Linked DNA regions of Homo sapiens: region 2 is linked to region 1. The links are contacts of gene promoters, found by promoter capture Hi-C in human tissues and cell types (Jung and others, 2019). All regions are on one chromosome and are shown on one strand. The core of a region is centred on a gene start or on the middle of the fragment in contact, and the rest is flanking DNA. Distances in the headings are between cores, read along the strand shown. Region 1 holds the start of GLOD4 (glyoxalase domain containing 4). Region 2 overlaps VPS53 (VPS53 subunit of GARP complex).

The links. The method cuts DNA at HindIII sites, captures the fragments that hold promoters and counts their contacts. A contact is called where the count stands out against the background at its distance.
Region 2: a fragment that was not itself captured here is called in contact with the fragment with the promoter of GLOD4 in region 1 in 3 of the 25 tissues and cell types used here (hippocampus, liver and thymus).

What each region holds. Positions count from the first base shown.
Region 1 is chr17:780,057-785,052 of GRCh38, reverse strand. GLOD4 (glyoxalase domain containing 4) reads left to right here and starts at 2,773. Exons shown (of 9, transcript NM_016080.4): 1 at 2,773-2,887. The coding sequence starts at 2,798. It overlaps MRM3 (mitochondrial rRNA methyltransferase 3), which reads right to left and starts at 2,700. Exons shown (of 4, transcript NM_018146.4): 1 at 2,361-2,700; 2 at 1,726-1,970. The coding sequence starts at 2,674. RefSeq lists enhancers at 2,173-2,721, 2,393-2,742, 3,743-3,842. The HindIII fragment of the contact is 5,823 bases long and covers 1,133-4,996 here.
Region 2 is chr17:698,314-703,539 of GRCh38, reverse strand. VPS53 (VPS53 subunit of GARP complex) reads left to right here. Exons shown (of 22, transcript NM_001128159.3): 3 at 4,160-4,209. Among named protein-coding and RNA genes, the nearest start is that of VPS53, 14 kb to the left of the region's middle. The HindIII fragment of the contact is 8,041 bases long and covers 1-5,226 here.

The sequences.
Region 1 (4,996 bases), core at 1,524-4,023:
GTATATGATTGCTACAATAAATGGGCTACTGACTGAAGTCAGGAGATGAATGAAATAGTACTTGTACTGAAACATGATACAATCAAAGATTTAGGATTCTTTCTAAAAGATGGTGCAGGTAAAAAGCCTATCCACCACTGAAGGCAATGGAAGGGTATTAGGCGTCTGTGTGCTGTGAGAGAGCCTCCACTTCGGAGTCACAGATGGCCAAAAGCCATTCAGTAGGGCTGAGGACCTTAGAAGTCCTTTACTTCTACTTGGATGTCTGTGGTGATGAGAACCCACTATACGGAGGCCCTACTTATGTCGCTGGATTCTGGGGAGTGTCTGTCTAAAGCCTGACAGGTGCTGCCAGTTCCTATCCATTTCTCCCTTATTCCCTGCCCTCAAATCTAAAATATAGTAACATAAGGATAAGCCAGGAAATGATGAAAGCAGGTATGATGATGAAGTTCAAGATGGGTTGGCCACTGTAAGCACACCTGCCCCAAGTGACAAGCACAAGTTCAAGATGGGCTGGCCACTGTGAGCACACCTGCCCCAAGTGACAAGCACAAGTTCAAGATGGGCTGGCCACTGTGAGCACACCTGCCCCAAGTGACAAGCACGGTAAAAATGAATAACACTTTCACTGAAGCATGGCGTGTGGATTAGAGGGCTGTAGCTAGTGAGAATATGGTTACTTAGCATGAGTAATTCTAGGTACTTTAGTAATCCAAGTCCCCATCCTAGGATCTAAGAGCTCTGAGTGCAGAGGCACAGATCCCTGTGACTCACTGGGTTACAGAGACAAGAGATGGTTCCCCAGAATCTCCTCTCTCAGCAGTTCAAGGATTCAGTTTTCATATCTTAAAACTCCCATGTCAAAAACGTATGAAAAACTTATCTTCTCATATTTAGACCAAAGACTTTGTAACTGCTAATCAACATCGGAGTTACATAAGGTTAAGTCAGATTCAGCCAAATGAAGGAACAGACTAGAAGACAAGGTTCTCTGTTTATTGGGCTAAACGGGGCAGTAAATTGTGGCTTGTACCTCGCTTCTTAGATCTGCTTCTGGAATAAGCAGTTTATTGACAGTTATCACCACATTGGCAGAGGTTTTGCAAAAATGAAGGGCTCAATCTTTCAGTAAACGCTTTCTTAATTTTTAATCTGACATAGAAAGTTGAAGAAGTAATCTAAAAAATAGAAGGTTTGAGGAATAGTGGTTCTTCCTAGAGACCATAAAGAGCCACAACACAAATGATAGTGAAAAACGGGTTTCAATTTCCATTGAAAATACTCTAAGATACACAGGTTTGAGAATTATATTTTTCTAATTGTAACATTTTGAATTTCATTTCAATGCTGCTGTCCTAAGACAAGTATGAGAAATTAATCCTAGGTCTCCACACCTTAAGATACACTGTGTAAGGCCAGGCATGGTGGCTCACGCCTGTAATCCCAGCACTTTGGGAGGCCGAGGCAGGAGGATCACCTGAGGTCACAAGTTCGACGTCAGCCTGGCCAACATGGTGAAACCCCACCTCTACTAAAAATACAAAAATCACCCGGGCATGGTGGCAGACGCCTGTAATCCCAGCTACTGCGGAGGCTGAGGCAAGAGAATCCCTTGAACCCGAGAGGCGGAGGTTGCAGTGGGCCGAGATCGCGCCATTGCACTCCAGCCTGGGTGACAGAACAAGACAAAAAAAAAAAAAGATACACTGGGTAATCACTAACCCATTATTCCTTGTGGCGTTACGAGGTCGGACCAATCCTTGATATCCTCAAATTTCACCTTAATGAGGCTGACACCTTTCAGCTTATCGACTGGCAACTCCTTTAGGTATTCTAGACGGCTAAAGAAGAACATTTTTGGCACAGCTCCAGCCTTGAGAGCGTCTGAAATGAGCCTGCGACCTTCCAGCAGGATCTTCCCTTGTTTTTCCCGAAATGGCCTGGACTTTACTATTGTCATTACACTGCTGTAGATGGAAATAAAAAAAAAAAACAGGTAACTATCAACATCCTTGTTACTGAGACACGCTTAGTTGTAACAGAAATAAAGAGCTACGGAGAGGGCCGGGCGCGGTGGCTCACGCCTGTAATCCCAGCACATTGGGAGGCCGAGGCGGGCGGATCACCTGAGGTCAGGAGTTCCAGATCAGCCTGGCTAACATGGTGAAACAAAAACAACAACAAAGAGCTAAGGAGAAACAGAAGCTAATTCCAAAGACGCTTATTCGGCCCTCTGTGCATAATACAAAAACCAGCGGGCTGTACTGGAAGAAGTCCTCCATCGGAAGGAGGTTAAGGTTCCGCTGTGCGACGGGAAGGGAAACGAGAACATTCGACAGGCTCAAGAACCACATCACCTCAGCCTCCTGTCCCCGGGATAAGCTTTATCGTAGCGAAGCCCAGACTCTTCCCAGGTGCTGGGAGCGCGGGATGCGGACTCCTCGAGCGGTTGTTTCTCTCGTTGCTCCTGGGCACTGGCCTCAGATGGTGCCTTGCGGGGCTGCTTCCCAGGAGCGCGCTTCTGTTCCACCACCTCTCCGGAAGGAAACACCACTTTCACTGGGCTCCGCCGCAGCGCCCGGACCCAGCGCCTCGCGTCAAGGTCCCAAGCCTGGACCACCTGCAGCAACGGTCGCACGACAAACCTCGCGGGTCTCACCAGCGCCGCCATGTTCCCTGAGACCCGGGCTGCGTCACGAAAGCGCGCCGTCGGCGGCTAGTGACGTCACGGCCCGTGGCGCCCTTCGTGGACTGGGCTGTACGGTGCGCGTGACGGCTGCGTGCGGCGGGAATCATGGCTGCTCGCAGAGCTCTGCACTTCGTATTCAAAGTGGGAAACCGCTTCCAGACGGCGCGTTTCTATCGGGACGTCCTGGGGATGAAGGTGCAGGCCGGGGCCGACAGGGGCTGGCGCGCGAGGCTGGAACCGGCGCCCGAGCCGGCCCTGGCGGAGGGAGGGGAAAATGGGTGTGTCGTGAACCTAAGCCGGAGGGTGTCCGACCTTAGGCCCTGCGCGGTGTTCAGCTTCAGGAGCGTGGCGAGTTGCCGTTGGGGATCATAGGCCTTGGAGAAGGGCCTAACACGATTAGTCCCCGCGGTGTGCCCACGCACGTCCTTTCATTTAAGCCACTCGTAAACGTTTATTGAGCCCCGCCCTTGTGGAGCTTACCGTCTACCGGAAAAGACGGTAAATAAAATGTTATATAATGCTTTCTAGTTAATATTTGTGTTTTCCGGTTTGGAGCCTTTGATGTAGATAAAATCAGCGTATTCAGAGTTCTGCTTCTAGCAAGGCTGGTCTGAATAGTCCGTTTCGGATACTCAGTCTCTGAATATATGCTCCAACTCTCAACCCATCTGCTTTTCAACAGCACCCAGAAGCGGTCTGTCTCGGGTCCTGAGGAGCTGTTATTTGCAGGATTCAGTTGGTTGGGGAACTGGGTTTTGGGGACCTCCTTTGATAAGCCAGGGAGGTAGGGAACACACCACTAAGGAAGACTTGAAAGGTGCAAGAGCGCGGTTTAGTGTATAGACGGTGCAATAGACGGGGATCTGAATTCGTCAGGTCATTTTTAAAATATCTGCTATTTTCAGGGTACTACGTTGAGTTTTGGCAACAAAGGTGCAAATGACCCTGATATATATCCTCCATTAGAGCTCATGGCCTGGGTTGGGGTGGGAGTTGGAACTGGATTTGTACGTAGATGATGGTAATGGAAGTCAGAATTTGATAGTGAAAAACCACCAAACTTTCGATAGCAGAAACCACAGAGCTGTCCCTTGTTAGTATTTCCTCGTCGATCAAAAGGTTGTTGCAAAGATTAAACACGTGCCGGCGCGGTGGCCCACGCCTGTAATCTCAGCACTTTGGGAGGCCAAGGCGGGTGGATCACTGGAGGTCAGGAGTTGGACACCAGCCTGGCCAACATGGTGAAACCCTGTCTCTACTAAAAATACAAAAATTAGCCGGGCATGGTGGCACACGCCTGTAATCCCAGCTACTCGGGAGGCTGAGGCAAGAGAATCGCCTGTATCTGGGAGGCGGAGGTTGCAGTGAGCCGAGATCGCACCATTGTGTTCCAGCCTGGATGACGAAAGCAAAACTCCGTCTCAAAAAAAAAAAAAAAAAAAAGATTCAACACCTTATTATATGTATAGTATTTAACATATCGGTAATAGTAGATTATATAAGTGTTAGCCACTATTATAAAAATACAAAAGAAGGAGCGGTTTTCCAACCTGGGTGATGAGGAAATAATTCATGTAGACCTTGTATTCGAGTTGACTTTTTTTTTTTTTTTTTTTTTTGAGGTGGAGTCTTGCTCTGTCGCCAGGCTGGAGTGCAGTGGCGCGATCTCGGCTCACTGTAAGCTCAGCCTCCCGGGTTCACACCATTCTCCTGCCTCAGCCTCCCGAGTAGCTGGGACCACAGGCGCGTACCACAACACCCGGCTAATTTTTAAAAATATTTTTAGTAGAGACGGGGTTTCACCGTGTTAGCCAGGATTCGAGTTGACGTCTAAAGATAGGATATCCACAGGTAGATGAGAGGAGGAGCTACATAGTAAAACTGAAGAGCCAGTGCGGAGATGGCACATGTTTGCGAAGCCGCTGGTTTTATGTGCCTTTAGTTGAGGTTGCTTAGTTGAAGTTAAGGAGATGGGATATCAGGATGGACAGGTCGGCATTGCTTCTAATAGTATCTTGAATGCTATGCTAAAGAATTTGGATTTTATGCTGCAGTAAGATGGGAGCTCACTTATGTTCTTAAACAGGGTGGTGATGGGATCAGTGCTTTGTGCTTTAGGCATGTGCTTTTTTGGTGTTATTAAGGAAGGATATCAATAAGGATTTTTTTATTTTTTATTTTTTATTTTTTTTATGTTGAGACGGAGTCTCGCTCTTTCGCCCAGGCTGGAGTGCAGTGGCGCAATCTCGGCTCACTGCAAGCTCCGCCTCCTGGGTTCACACCATTCTCCTGCCTCAGCCTCCC
Region 2 (5,226 bases), core at 1,473-3,972, 81 kb after region 1:
CCAGCCAATGTGGATTCCCACAGGGCTTTTCCCCAACTCCAGGAGAGGCCCTCGACCCTGGTGAGGATCACTGCCATAGCCAGACACTGAACTAACTGATGAGAGTGGGTGTGTCATAGCTGTCCGGTGTCTTGGGGTGCAGGAAAATTAGGTCAAGAATCATTGCGTTAGAGGTAGATGCTAGAGTAAGAAAGAGGATCTCTGCAGCTTCAGGCAAAGCACCTGTCCTGCAGAGCACGTTTCCCATCTGTTTTTTATTTGAGGTGGGATCTCTGCAGCTTCAGGCAAAGCACCTGTCCTGCAGAGCACGTTTCCCATCTGTTTTTTATTTGAGGTGGGTTCCCACTCTGTCACCTAGGTTGGAATGCAGTGGTGTGATCTCGGCTCGCTGCAACCTCTGCCTCCCAGGCTCAAGCGATCCTCCCACCTCAGCCTCCTGAGTAGCTGGGACCACAGGTGTGCACCAGCAAGCCCAGGTAGTTTTTTGTATTTTTGGTAGAGACAGGGTTTTGCCAGGTTGCCCAGAGACTGGTCTTGAACTGCTGAGCTTAGGAAACCCACGTACCTTGGCCTCCCAAAGTGTTGGGATTACAGGCATGAGCCACCATGCCCGGCCTCCGCCTCCATAGTTCCCAATCTTAACGTTGAAGAGGAGAAAAGTGTGCCTCGCCTGGCAGAGGGGATTAAGGGAAATAATTTCTGTGAAGTGCCTGCAATTGTTGCCTAGGAGATCCACATTAAATGCTAGCAGCCTTTCCCTTTCCCCTCCAGCAGAAAGCCTGGAAATGAAGGGAAAACAGTCACCCAAAGGCCACCTGACTATCAAATAGTGTAACTTTAGGATATTTCTTTCTCTTCTATTTATTTATTTATTGAGACAGAGTCTCCTTCTGTTATCCAGGCTGGAGTGCAGTGGCGCGATCTCGGCTCACCGCAACCTCTGCTTCCTGGGTTCAAGCAGTTCTCCTGCCTCAGCCTCCCGAGTAGCTGGGATTACAGGCACCTGCCACCACGCCCGGCTAATTTTTTTTTGTATTTTTAGTAGAGACGGGGTTTCACCATATTGGCCTGGCTGGTCTCGAACTCCTGACCTTGTGATCCGCCCACCTCGGCCTCAAAGTGCTGGGATTACAGGCATGAGCCACCGCGCCCAGCCTATTTTTATTTTATTTTTATTTATTTTTTCTTTTTGAGATTGTCACCCATCACCCAGGCTACAGTTCAGTGGCTCCATCACAGCTCACTGTGCCCTGGAATTTACAGACTCAATCAGTCTTCTTTCCTCAGCCTAATAAGCAGATTGTACTACAGGCGTGTGCTACCATACCCGGCTAATTTTTCTATTTTTTTGTAGAGACGGAGTTTCACCACGTTGTCCAGGTTGGTCTCTAACTCTTGGGCTCTAGCAGTCCACCCACCTCAGCCTCCCAAAGGACAGACATAAGCCTCCACACCCGGCCTCTGTTCTTTTTAAAAGCTACATTCATTATATTATAAAAATGATATTATAGGGCCGGGTGCACTGCCTCATGCCTGTAATCCCAGTGCTTTGGGAGGCCAAGGCGGGAGCATTGCTTGAAGCCAGGAATTCAAGATCAGCTTGGACAGCATAGCAAGACCCTGTGTTTATAACAAAATAATAAAATTAGCCAGGCTCAGTGCATGTACCTTTTTGTTCCTAGCCACTCAGGAGGCTGGGGTGGGAGGATTGCTTGAGCCCAGGAGTTTGAGGTTACAGTGAGCTATGATTGCACCACTGCACTCCAGCCTTGGTGACAGAGTGAGCCGCCATCTTAAAGGTAGGCTATTTGATATTATAAAAATACTTGCTATCATAAAATGATATTAGAAATGTTTTCCTCTTGGCCAGGCGCGGTGGCTCATACCTGTAATCCTAGCACTTTGGGAGGCCAAGGCGGGCAGATCACGAGGTCAAGAGATCGAGACCATCCTGGCCAACGTGGTGAAACCCCGTCTCTACTAAAAATACAAAAATTAGCTGGGCGTGGTGGCATGTGCCTGTAATCCCAGCTACTCGGGAGGCTGAGGCAGGAGAATCGCTTGAACCAGGGAGTCGGAGGTTGCAGTGAGCCGAGATCGCGCCATTGCACTCCAGCCTGGTGACAGAGCTAGTCTCCATCACACACAAAAATATATGTATATATATAATTATATATAAATTAAAGTAATTTTTCTGAGATTCGTTTTTCTTTTTTTTTGAGACAGGGCTGTTTAGCCCAGGCTGGAGTGCAGTGGTGCAAACATGACTTACTGCAGCCTCGACCTTCTGGGCTCAGGTGATCCTCCCACCTCAGCCTCCTGAGTACCTGGGACTGCAAGCACATGCCACCATGCCTGGCTAACTTTTTTTTATTTTTTGGAGAGATGGGATCTCACTGTATTGTCTGGGCTGGTCTTGAATTCCTGGATTTAAGTGATCCTCCCACCTTAGCCTCCCAAAGTGCTGGGATTACAGGCATGAGCCATCACGTCCAGCCTGAGATTCATTTTTACCTCAAGCTGTTCTTGGATTTCTGAAAATTCTGAGTAACTGTTGGCTTGGTCAGAACAGTAGGATGAGCTGTGACAACCCAGTCTGACATCTCAAACACTCATGGCCTGTTTCTCTTACCAGACCTGCTCCTGGAAGGCACCTGGCCTCCTCCTCCCATCAGAGGTAGCCAGAAGCAATTTATAAGCATATTTCCTACAATATCCCTAATTCCTTCTGAGATAAAATATTTGTTAAGGGAGAGAGGAAGAGGATTTATTAAATTGTATTTTGAAAACTTGAATTAAAATAGTACTATAAAATTGTACCTCCTCTTGTCCATTAGGGGGCACCATTTCCTCACATTTTCTCATCTCTAAGGTCAGAAGTGATCCCTTTGTTTTAATTGTTGTTATAATAAGCTTATTATAATCACAGTAGTAGTGCATAGTCAATAATTATAAAATACAGACAAAAAGAAGAAAATATTTTTTTTTGAGACAGAGTTTTGCTCTTGTTGCCCAGGCTGGAGTGCAATGGCACATTCTCAGCTCACTGCAACCTCTGCCTCCCGGGTTCAAGCGATTCTCCTGCCGCAGCCTCTTGAGTAGTTGGGACAACAGGTGCCCACCACCAAGCCTGCCTAATTTTTTTTTTTTTGTATTTTTAGTAGAGATGGGGTTTCGCCATGACGGTCTGGCTGGTCTCAAACTCCTGACCTCAGGTGATCCGCCTGCCTTGGCCTCCCAAAGTGCTGGGATTACAGGCGTGAGCCACTGCACCCGGCCCAAGAAGAAAAATTTGAAATCACTTCTTTTCATATTGCAATACGTAGTTGATAGATTATAGCTACTAATGCTGCAACTACTAATACATTACAATTACTCCTATCTATCCTTCCAGACTTTTTTCTAGTGGATCTATATAATAAAAAATAAATTTGTGTATTTATTGAAGTATAACATAATACAGAGGAGTACACAAATCTTAAGGGTACAACTTGATGAAGTTTCACAAAATGAACATAGCCATGTAACTGCCACCCAGATCAAGAAATAAAACATTTAAAAAAATCTTCAGAAGGCCTTTCCTTGCCTGTTCACTGTCACTACCTTCCCCCAGAGATAACCACTGTCCTAGCTTCTAACAGGAGAATTATGTTAGTGAAATCATATCCTCTGTCCCCTTGTGTCTGGCTTTTTCTGTGCCCCATTCCGTTAGTAAAATGTTTATCCATGGTGTTGTGCATTCATTCATTTTTGTTGCTGTATTTCGTTACGTGAATTTGTCACAATCACGTACACCATGGGTCAGCAGACTCTCCTGTAAAGGTCCAGATAGTAAATACTTCAGGCTTTGTGGCTGTACAGCGTCTTTCACGACTGCCTACCTGCCATGTTAGCTTAAGAGCAGCCGCAGGCAATATGTAAGTGAACGGGCATGGCTGTGTTCCAGTGAAACTTTATTTACAAAAAACAGGGGCTGGGCTAGATGTGGCTGTAGCTTCCAACTACTGCTTTACTTTTTTTTTTTTTAAAGCAAAACTCATATCATGTGATTAAATTTTTTGAGATTTCATAAGTAGCTATTATAGCACATCATTTTCCTGTGAAAGAGGAATTCCAGGAAGTGGACTAACAGCTGGGCACTCTTCCTTCTTTATTGTAGTCTCTGGCGAACATAGACGAAGTCGTGAACAAAATTAGGCTGAAAATAAGGTGAGTAAAGCTGTGTGATTGTTCATAATTAATGAAAAGTATATTGTTAATTTAGTTAATCACATTCTGGATCACATTTTTCTGTGAGAGCACTGAAATCTCAAGTTTGCCATAGATGGTAATATAATTCCTTTTAAAATTTTTATTATTTATTTATTTATTTTTGAGACGGATTTTTGCTCATTGCCTAGGCTGGAGTGCAATGGTGTGATCTTGGCTCACTGCAACCTCCACCTCCCAGGTTCAAGTGATTCTCCTGCCTTAGCCTCCCTAGTAGCTGGGATTACAGGTGTGAGCCACCACGCCTGGCAAATTTTGTACTTTTAGTAGAGACGGGGTTTCACCATGTTGGTCAGGCTGGTCTCGAACTCCTGACCTCAAGTGATCCACCTGCCTTCGCCTCCCAACGTGCTGGGATGACAGGGGTGAGCCACCGCACCCGGCCATATAATTATTTTATCCATATGAACTTTGTGGCAAGGAACTCAATGCTTTGGCCAGTCTTCAATTCTTCATACAAAAGGAAGGAAGCTGTGATAGAGTCTACTCAAAACATCTTTTGTAATTATAGAAGGAGGCAAAAGCTTTTCTGATAGATTTTTTTTTTCTTTTTTTCTGTTTTTTTTTCAAAACAAGGTCTTACTCTGTGTCCCAGGCTGGAGCGTACTGGTGCAGTTACAGCTCACTGCAGCCTCGAACTCCTGGGCTCAAGTGATCCTCCCACCTCAGCCTCCTGAGTAGCTGGGACTACAGGCGCACCACCACACTTTGCTAATGTTTATATTTTTTGTAGAGATGGGGTTTCGCCTTGTTGGCTAGGCTGGTCTCAAACTGCTGAGCTCAAGCAATCTGCCTGCCTCAGTCTCCCACATCTACTAGATTTTTTTTTTTTTTTTTTGAGATGGAGTCTGGCTCTGTCACCCAGGCTAGAGTGCAGTGGTGTGATCTTGGCTTACTGTAATCTCCACCTCCCAGGTTCGAGCAATTCTTGAGCCTCAGCCACCCAAGTAGCTGGAA